2 separate regions of the Homo sapiens genome follow, and region 2 is linked to region 1. Evidence: promoter capture Hi-C in human tissues and cell types (Jung and others, 2019). All regions are on one chromosome and are shown on one strand. The core of a region is centred on a gene start or on the middle of the fragment in contact, and the rest is flanking DNA. Distances in the headings are between cores, read along the strand shown.

The links. Contacts are between HindIII fragments. The study calls those that stand out against the background at their distance.
Region 2: a fragment that was not itself captured here is called in contact with the fragment with the promoter of NEU3 in region 1 in 2 of the 25 tissues and cell types used here (dorsolateral prefrontal cortex and mesenchymal stem cells).

Annotation. Positions count from the first base shown.
Region 1 is chr11:74,986,616-74,991,918 of GRCh38, forward strand. It overlaps NEU3 (neuraminidase 3), which reads left to right and starts at 2,318. Exons shown (of 3, transcript NM_006656.6): 1 at 2,318-2,539. The coding sequence starts at 2,446. RefSeq lists enhancers at 2,068-2,117, 2,398-2,587. The HindIII fragment of the contact is 16,586 bases long and covers 1-2,458 here.
Region 2 is chr11:75,207,310-75,212,612 of GRCh38, forward strand. TPBGL-AS1 (TPBGL antisense RNA 1) reads right to left here. Exons shown (of 6, transcript XR_950308.4): 5 at 3,053-3,098; 6 at 1-824. It overlaps LOC124902716 (a long non-coding RNA gene), which reads left to right and starts at 3,514. Exons shown (of 2, transcript XR_007062782.1): 1 at 3,514-3,699. The HindIII fragment of the contact is 3,195 bases long and covers 1,715-4,909 here.

The sequences.
Region 1 (5,303 bases), core at 1,068-3,567:
TGTTGTATCCCTGCATATAGTCTCCTTTTCATTAATATCATTTATAACTTTTAAAAATGAGTCTTGCCAGAGGGTTTGTCCGGTTTATTAGATATGTCAAGACTAATATTTGCTTTTGTCAGTCCCCTCTATTGTACTTTGCTTCTTGTTTCATTTATTCTGTTCTTATTTTCATCATTTCCTTTTCTACCTTTTTGGGATTTATTCTGTTCTTCCTTTTCTACATTCTTAAGTTAGATCCTTAACTCATTACTGTTTTGTTGTTCTTATCTCCTGGTATAGGGTCTTTATTTGAGTTCTCCCAGAGGCAAGTTCTGAGACCAGGACCTGAGGGCAATAGTATATGTGAGAGATGCAGGGAGTGCCATAATGAGGTGGGAAAGTAGGAAGGGAAGAAAAGGTGAGCAATAAGGGTGTAGCTTTTAGTAGCTATTGATAATTGCTGTCTAGATTCATTAAATTCATTTTGTCATTAAAGGACAAAATGATGAAATTCTATCATTCATTTGGCATTGGTCAGTTAATTATTTTATGAAGGAGAACTTTTCCCCATCAACTATTTAGTTACCCAGAAATAGGGTTTGTACAGGAAAGGCAGAATAAAAAGCTGCTTTCCTTAGCAAACTCTGAGGTGACCAAAGTGACATTTTTCTCCATATGTCGATATGAACTTTCTTTGCAGTCCTTGTTCTTTTTGATGTTCTAATTTTTCCATATTTGGCCAGTGGAATCACCTTCAAATTGATTCTTACCTTCTTTTGACATGACCTGAAATAGTCTTTTATGGCTTTCTTGCTTTCTGTTAAGATGTTCTAGGCTAATCTTATAAATTTTCTTCCCTGCACCTAAAATCAGCCATTTTTTTCATGGAACCCTGGTTCCTTTGGGGACAAAATAGTATTTTAAGACCCATTATTGCCAGGCGCGGTGGCTCACGCCTGTAATCCCAGCACTTTGGTAGGCCGAGGCGGGCGGATCACGAGGTCAGGAGATCGAGATCATCCTGGCTAACATGGTGAAACCCCGTCTCTATAAAAAATACAAAAAATTAGCCGGGCGTGGTGGTGGGCGCCTGTAGTCCCAGCTACTCGGGAGGCTGAGGCAGGAGAATGGCGTGAACCCGGGAGGCGGAGCTTGCAGTGAGCCAAGATGACGCCACTGCACTCCAGCCTGGGCGGCAGAGACACACTCCATCTCAAAAAATAAAAATAAAAATAAAAAAGACCCATTATTTGGGCTTATTACGATGAGTTGGTCTCTGGTTCTAGGCCTTTTTTTTTTTCTTTTTTTTTTTTTTTTTTTTAGAAAAATACAGCAGGTTGTATTGAGGTTGGCACCTATGTTCTTTCAAAGAACCCTCATCATTTTGTGAGTTCTTTCCTTGTGGCACCACGATGTTCCAGGCTCATCTTGTATGTTCCCTGCCTCAGCACAGGATTTTTTTTAATGAGAAAAATATCACGAATTCAAATTTACAGAAGCTTTACATTTTTATGTCCTCTAAGTTAGCAGTCTGTCTTTCCTTTTATTGGCGTTTGTAAAATTTCTTCTTTTTAAAATTGTTATATTTTAGAGACAGGGTCTCGCTCTGTCACCCAGGCTGGAGTGCAGTGGTGCAATCACAGCTCACCACAGCCTCCAACTCCTGGGCTCAAGGCATCCTCCCACGTAGGCCTTCCAAAGCGCTGAGATTGTAGGCATAAGCCACCAGGCCCAGCCTATTACCTTTACGTTGTACTTAGTCCCAGATAAAAAATGACCTTAGATCAGTCCTTTCCTCTTTGGCTGGGGAGAGGGGGGCTTAAATTCCGGTACTGTGAAACAGAAGAATGGACTCAGTGCTATGTGACAAATCTATGTATGTAAATGTGTGTATATACACACACATAAATTATATATATGAATATATTTTCATTTTCATATTTTGCAAGGAGAGTAGCCAATGCTCTGGACCTCTGGTCCTTTTTGTAGGGTACCCTCTGAGGCCGGGAACCTTTGCTCAACTCTCAGGCTGTCCAGGGAAGCTTTAGGCGGTGATACCGAGCTACAGACCAATATAAGAGCTCGGGGCTGTGGCACTGAAGAGAGGAGGCGGCCGTTGGGAACTGAGGTGGGCCCAGGGCTTGAGCTGAGTTGGCGAGGGTGGAGGTGGTGCCGGTCCCACGCCGTGGTGGGGACCGAGCTGCGGGCTGGAGGGAGGGGCAGCGCCGAGGGGGCGGGACGGGGAGGGCTCGCGGAGTAGGCCAACGGTTGGCCCCAACCGCCACTGACTACAGCCTGCGCCCGCCTCTTTTCGTTGCCGTTACCTGTTTCCGGCAGTCGACACGCTCTTCGCTTCTCGGGGCTTGTCTCCGTGTCCTCCGTCTCAGTTGTTTCTCCCTCTCTATCCTCCTCTGTCTCAGTCTCCCCAGCCTTGGGGCCGGTGCCTCTTCCGGGCTTCGGCGAATGAGACCTGCGGACCTGCCCCCGCGCCCCATGGAAGAATCCCCGGCGTCCAGCTCTGCCCCGACAGAGACGGAGGAGCCGGGGTCCAGTGCAGGTGAGCGGGGTTGGGAGACAGGAGAGCTCCCCGAGGAGGACTCAACTGTGGGGACAGGTTGAGCAAGACCATCTGCGTTTGGGAAATCCAGCCTTGGATTATTGAGACAGAGCCACCTAGTCGGCTAGGATCTGACCTGGCCAGAGAATTCTTGGCTAGTCCTATTTTTATTCGTTCTCACAGAAGCCGAACTTAAACCTCAGAATTATCACTCCAGAGATGAAAGGGAACTGAGACTGGAAAAGCCCTGCTTACCAAAGGTCTCTGGGCGGCAGAAAGAGCCCTGAGCTTCAGTTTCAACTTAGGAGACCTGGGTCTTGGTCCAGATTTTACTGTGGAGTGGCGTTCAGTAAGCTTTGTCCCCATCCCGGGCCCGAGTTTTCCCATCTATACCATGAGAGGGTTTAGACTACAGATCTTCAAAGGTCTGGCACGTGGTAGGTGCTCCTTAAATATTACTTGTTAGGAGTGAATAAATGAGATAGGAAGGCCTCCTGGGATTCACTGGAGGCTCATTGGGTTAGTTGGAGGCTGTGGAATTACATTATTATAGTCTGAGAAGTAGGCGGTATTATCTCCATTTTATAAGTGAGGAAACTGAAGCTCAGAAGTAAAGTGACTTGCTAGTAAGTGTCAAAGATAAGTCAGACTTCAGAGTCCATGCTAGGCTATACTCTCTCCCAGTAAGAAAGCGGGAAGGACTTGATGGGAAAGTGATTATATCGAGCAGCAAGTAATCATTTGAATTCTCTGCTTAAATGAACCCCAGAGCAGGCCCATATCTGATTATTTTCTATCCCGTTTCCAGCACCTGATTTGTGTGAAACGTTTTGGGTGGCAATGCCAGAATCACCATCTATATTACTTCTGTCATCAACACGATCAGCATAATTACAAAAATTAATGGCTCTAATTGTTATAGTGATAATAAAGCATAAATGAAATTGTGAGGACATCAAAATTTATAATTAAAGACACCTATTAAAACAGCAGTTTAAAATTTATAAAACACTTTTGAGTGGTTCTTCATATTGATCTGCTTAGGTAGGTATTATTATCCATAGTTTACAAGCAAGGAATCCAAGACCTAGAGGTTGAGTAACCATCAAAACGTCATGCAGCAAGAAATGGAGCTGAGACTTGAATCCAGCCCATGTGACAAGTTGTGCTTCTCCTTTGGTGATTATTTCCCTATTTCCTCTCCATTTCCTTTTTTTTTTGAGATGGAGTCTTGCTGTGTCACCCAAGCTGGAGTGCAGTGGTGCAGTCTCGGCTCACTGCAACCTCCGTCTCCTGGTTTCAAGTGATTCTCCTGCCTCAGCCTCCCGAATAGCTGGGATTACAGGTGGATGCCACCATGCCTGGCCAATTTTTTTTGTATTTTTAGTAGAGATGGGGTGTCACCATGTTGGCCAGGGTGGTCTCGAACTCCTGACCTCAAGTGATCTGCCCACCTCAGCCTCCCAGAGTGGTGGGAATATAGGCATGAGCCACCGCACCCAGCCTCTTCCTTTCCTGTTCTGAGCCCTAACCCGCTCCATGCCTATCCTGTGCTCCATTCTTCTTATCACCTGGAGAATTCCTGTTTAGATTTAACTAATAGTCACATGTTGACTGATGATAGTAGTGTTGGTTTAACTTGTAATTAAGGTGTTAAGAGTTTAAAGTATGTTCTCTTTCAGCAATAAAGGGGGATTTAAATGTTTTTAAGAAAGGGAGTTGTAATTGTTATTATTGTCATTGTTATCCACAGGATTCAAGGAATAAAACTAGAATATACAGTAATTGGTAGTTTAAAAATAATAACTGTCATATATTGCACTCATACTATGTCATAGGCCTTGTAATAGCCACTGTAGTTAAGCATTTTATTTCTATCACCTACTCTGCTGAATTGTATAGGGGAGGATCCTGAAGCATAGAGAAGTTGAATAACATGCCCAAGGTCACATAGTCCTGGCCTGGTCCAAATCCTATGTTCTTAACCATTACACCAGCCTGGCTCAGAGACAGATTGTTTGCTTAGAACAAAGCCTGACCCTCCCGGGGAGGAGAGCCTGAATTGAGGGGAGAGAAGTATGCTCTAGTATTGAGTGAGAAGATGGTCTCCCCTTGCTTATCTTTTGATTCTGCTGTTGAGAGCCTGGGATTGAAATGAAGGGAGGCTTTTCTTCTGGACTCAGCAAGGCCACTCTCCCAGTTCCCCTCATGATACTGAGCAATAGTTCTTTTCCCTTCTTCAAGTTAGGAACAAGTGACTAAATATTCATATGCTATTGATAAAAGTTTGTCTTGGTTGACACTAGGAGGCTGTAGCCAAAAGCAGTGCAACTTTGCCGTATGGTTCACTGTCCTGAAAGCTTCCTGGAAGATTGGTCTAAAATCATCATGCCATTCCTCTGTCAAAAATTCTTGAGTGGTCTCCCATCTGTGGAATAAACACCTTAATAAGTTATCTAAGCCTCCCAGGATCTGGACTGTGCTGACCCCTTCAGTCCCACCTCTGCCCCCATCCCTTGCACTCCACCTTACTGTAGTCACACTAAACTACTGAGAGGCCCCAAAACTCACTGTTTTCTGTTGCCTATAGGCTTTTCACATCCTTGTCCTCTGCGCTTCTCCTTTTAACCCTCAGTTGGCTAATCCACTGTTCATTCTTTAAGATCTGGCTCACTGATTCATTCAATCATTCAACAAAAATTTGTTGAGTGCCTATTACTTAATAGGCATAGTTCTAGGTGTCAAGGCGGAGCAATAAGAAAAC
Region 2 (5,303 bases), core at 2,062-4,561, 220 kb after region 1:
CATCGCTGAGGCCCTCCCTGGATCTGGGGAGAGTCCTGGATGCTCAAGCTGCATTCACATCACGGTGAGTCCGCCTCTTGGTTGAGCCAAGATCTGAAGGAAAAGACGAGGTCCTTGTGCCTAAAGTCTTCCAAACTGGACATGGTGAGGAGACTCAGGAGTTACCCAAGAGAGAAATGGGTCAAGAGCCAAGGGGTGGAGCAAGTCAGGGCCAGAGGGGTTTTCCAGGCCCTGTGGGGGTCCCAGGGAAGTCCTCTCCCCTAATATAGCCTCTGGTCAATGAAGAGCCACAAGCATTTGCATCTGCAAGCTTACTTTCTTACACTGTACCAGGAAGCTGGGAGGAGAAGACATTAAGTCTCCCTGCTAGATTGTGCTGGTGTAAAGTCAGCAGAGGACAGGACTCAGACCAGAACTGACATCCTGATGCCTAGGTTTCTTTTCTTGTAGACTCTGGGAAGGTCTGGGATGCTAGATGCTGGGAAGTTCTAGGGTAGGCAGATGACCCATCAGGAGCTGGCATCCAGGGGTCATGACTGACATGCAGATAAGTGAAAGAGAACTCAGCGACATCCTCACCATTGCCTGGAGGTGTTGAATTCTTTCCCCTTCACATACCTTTGCTTATGCTGTTCCCTCTGACCTGGGTTATCTTCTTCATCCCCATCGCACAGCTTGTCTCTCCATCCCCACTTCATAAAGTCCTACCCAATCTTCCAGGCCCAGCTCAAAGGCCACCAACTCCAGGAAGGCAACATGGTATAGGCAATGGGGGGCAAGTGAAAACCACCTCTGGGGATCCAATCAAAGGCATAGACTCTCCACTAAATATAAAACAAAACACACACACAGAGACATATACACAATTGTGCATATGATTTCAGAGGTTGAAGACCATATGATGCCTGGGTGTAGACCTCCTAAGCATCCCAGGTCCCCAGTCAAAAGCCCTTAATGGAGTGAAAAGATTATAGAGTTGTGGAGAGAGTCAGACTTGGGATCAAATCTTGACTCTGCCACTTATTACAGTGTGACGATGAACAAATGATTTAACCTCTCTGCACCTCAGTTTGCTCACCTGCAAGTGAGGTTGAGCATGCCTAGCTCCTATCTCCCAGAAGCTGTGAGGACCGGGTAAGATCATGTACATGCTCACAGGCACCACACCTGATGATCAGGATTTGTAAGCTCCCTTCCCCTTCTGTCCCTGAAAAAATTTCATAAACACATAGAGCATCAGAGTCGGAGGGGGAAGTGACAACAGAGGGAGGAACACACCTCCTTTGCCCTACCCTGGCCACAGCTCCGTTGTCCCCAATCTCTCCTCCACTGTCAGCCAGGGCTCAGCCAGCCCAGTCTTATCTCTCCCCACAGCCAGCTTGGGACAGCTTTTCTCAACCAGATTTACATTTTTATTGATTTTCTTTCTCCCTCCTAGAGCAGTCCCTCCCTTCTACTTCCCCTTTGGCTATCAAATGGGCTTACCCTGGGAAACAGCAGTTCTAGGGCTGGCCAAGAAGTGATGGTTCAAGGTTGGATTCATTCACCCTTCCTTCCTTCATTCATTCAGCCACTCACATGAGCAACACATATCCTACATGTCTGCTCTGTGCCCTTCTCCTGGCATTGCTGGGGACACAACCATGTGTCAGATACAGTCTCTACTCAGGAAACTCTCAGTGTAAACAGACGACAAACAGTAACAAAAGCATGAGTAGTCATACAGGAGAGGGAAGAAGAGGAAGCCAAGGACTCTTCCTGGGGCCAATAGGGAAGGCTTCCAAGAGGTTATATCAGACCTGGTGTTAAGGATTAGGCAGGACTTCCTCAAGTGGACAAGGTGGAAATGGGCAGGAAAAACAACAGGACGAGCAAAGATAGAGAGAGGTGTGTCTGAGATACAGTGACAAGAGCAATGTGGCTGGAGGGCACTGCATGTGCAGGGCAATCAGGAGACAGAAGAGAGCAGAGGCTGGAAAGACCAGCAGGGACCAAGCATGGAGACCCAGCTGAAGGTGTGGATGCTTCCCTGAGGGCAAGGAGGAACCCCTGAAGCACTGATTGATGGATTATTCCATTGGCCAGTTATTTTAAGCAGGGAGTGACATGACAAGATTTGCATTTTGGAAAGGCCGCTGGTTGCACCATGGGGGCTTTGAGTGGAAAAGAGAAGCTGAAGGCCAAGAGCTCAGGCAGGGGGCAGGTGCAACAATCAAGAGAAGTAGGAGGACTACAGCCAGGTCAGGAGAGGCATCCTAGAAGTGGGATATCTAAGGTCAGTCTTGAAAGACGAGTGGGAATGCACCAGGAAGAGAAGTTGGGAAGGGTGTCAAGGCAGAAGAAACTGCACAGACAAAGTAGACAGAAACCTCCTGGCAGGCTTGGGGTATTTCCACTAGTTTAGCAGGGCTGCAGCATGGCCTAAGAGAGAAGGCATGGAGAGGGTGAGGCTGAAGAAAGTGGGTTGATGCTCTCAATGCCACTCAGTGTTGTCCACCTCCCGAACCTAGCCCCAGGTGAGAGAGGAGAGGGAGCCCTCACCTCTGTACAGAGGTGGCTGTACAGGTCTGAGCCCTAGGTCAGGGGTGCTCCTTAGTCCAAACACACCTTTTAGTGTTCACTACATTTCACATTTTACACAGTCCCTTTACACCCCGTCCTCATGGTTTCCTGGTGAAGAAGGCAGGAAAGGGATTATTATTGCCATGTAGTAGGTAAAGAAACTGAGGCCCAGAAAAGTGCAGAAACTTGCCCAAGGTCACTCAAGAGCCCAGGTATCCCCCTCCTAAGGCTCCCATGTTGTTGCTAATAAACCTACTTGTCCCTGAATCACATATGTACAATAGATGTAGTAAGTGCTAACTAATGTGGTTGGGATGAAAAAAGGGGGGAGGAGAGAAAACACATCAGAGAAAGAGGTTTCCTTTTTATGTCCCCATTTCCTCAGCCTTCATCCTGCAGCTGGGGACATTCCAGCTGGGAAAACAGAACCCAGGTCCCTCTGCTTTGGAATCCAACAGACAGGAAGGTCAATCCAAGCTCTGCCACTTACCAGGCATGGGAAGTCACTGCACTCATCGGAGCATTGGTTTTCTCATCTGTAAAAGGGATAAATAAGCTTCACCTATCAGAATCGTTGAGAGGATTTAATGTGATAAAGTAGCAATATAGTAATCTACTACTGAGTAATAAATTTTCTGGCTGACACAGTGGCTCAAACCTGTGATCCCAGCCATTTGGGAGACTGAGGCAGGAGGATCACTTGAGCCCCAGAGTTTGAGACCAGCCTGGGCAACACAGTGAGGCCCCATCTCTCCAAAAAATAATAATAATAATAAAAAGAAACTTAGCCAAGGGTGGTAGCACCCACACCTGTAGTTTCAGCTACTTGTAAGGTTTAGGTGGGAGGATTGCTTGAGCCCAGGAAGTCAAGATTGCAGTGAGCAGTGATTGTACTACTGCATTCCAGTCTGGGTAACAGAGCAAGGCCCTGCCTCAAAAAACCCCCCAAAACCAAAAAATAAATTTTCCCAAAGTTTAGCAACTTAAAACAACAAATATTTATTATCTCATAGAATTTCTGAGGGTCAAGAACCCACAGATGGGCTAACTGGAAGGTGCTGGATCTTCATGAGGATTTCTGATGAAGTTGTAGTCAAGCATCAGCCAGGGCTGCAGTCATCAGAAGGCTCAACTGGGGTGAGAGGATCCACTTCCAAGTTCATTCGATGATTGCTGTTGGGCCTCTGTACCTTGTTGGCAGTTGACCAAAAGCTTTGATTCCATGTGCCTTTTATGATCTAATATTGGAAGAAACATACCGTAACTTTTGCCATATTCTCTTGGTCATGTAGACAAACCCTGGTATAATGTGGGAGGGGAATACAAAAAGGCATGAATACCAGGGGGTATGGATCATTGGGAGCCATTTGGAAGCTGGCTACAACAAGCACTCAGACCAGTGCCTGACACACAGTAGGTACTTATTCATTAGTCGCTGCTATAACTCTTGCAATGACCTATCACAGCCTGGTTGAGAAGATAAGATCTGGACATGATAAGGTGAGAAATCTTTGGCAAAGTGAAATGTAACTTGAATTAAACAATGTTCAATTACATTAGAAGAGGGTGTGCCGGACAAGGCCCTGGCAACCAGGGAAGACTTCCTGGCGGAGATGGAGAGGAGGTAGGAGGGCAATCCAGAGAGAAAACAGAAGATGAGTATGGCAGGTTGTATTGGTTGCCTTCCCATGGCAAATGCTCTCTTCTTCATTCTGGTAGCAAGGTGCTCAGCCACAGGGATGATCCAAGGCAGCAATGGAAATGCCTTCCCCTTTGCCAGAAAGTGGTCCAAGAGTAGACATGTGACCTCGTCTTAGTCAATGACATGTTTGGGGATAGTCTGCTGGGAAAGCTTCTCTCCTGGATAAGAGAATGATGTGAAGGGAGAATACCCTTTTTGCTACCATGCCCTTTCTCCCTGCTTGGGAGGACATGGTTCCTGATGGCACTCAGTCATCTTGCAATCACAGGGGTAGTCACCCTCGAGGCTCAGAATGGGAAATGCCTGGGTCATCAAAGACATTGTTGAATCAGCAGACCAATCCTCATTCCAACTTCTTCTGGCCTCATTAAAAAATAAAAAGTTTAAGCCACTCTAAAGCAGGTGACCTCTTCCTTGCATCCTAAATGATTCAGTGAGAAAAGTATCCTGGTTCCCTCTGGGACTATTTTCTTTTTCTGAGGAAGACAGAGGGAAGAGTGGAATGGGAAAGGGCCCAGGCTGGGAGGCAGGCGTCCTTGGTCTAACCCCAGCTCTGCCTCTGAGTTGCTGTGTGATCTTGAGCAAGTCCCTTCTCCCCTGGGCCTCCAATGATTACAGCTAATATTTATTGGCTGTTTACTGTGTGCCCAGTGCTCTTCTAAGAGCTTCCCTTGCATCATCTCATTCAATCTTCACAACACCTCTGTTATGTCAGTATCACTATTATCTTTATTTTAGGGATAAGGAGACTGAGGCCCAGAAACTTGAGGTCCAGGATCCTGACTATAAAGCCATATTGCCTAGCAGTAAAAGGAAGTATCCAGACAAGGTGACCTCTAAGGGCCTCTTAAGCTCAAATATTCTTTCATTTGCTGTCCCATTTCTAGCTACATGATCAACAAGCCAGCTTAGCCTAGAGAAAAAAGAAATAAGGGCTGTCTTTAGACATCTGAAAAGCTGTCACGTGAGCAGGAGATTAGACTTACTCGGGGTAGCTCAGAGGACATGAACTGGACCAGTGTGGGAGCATGATAGGGAG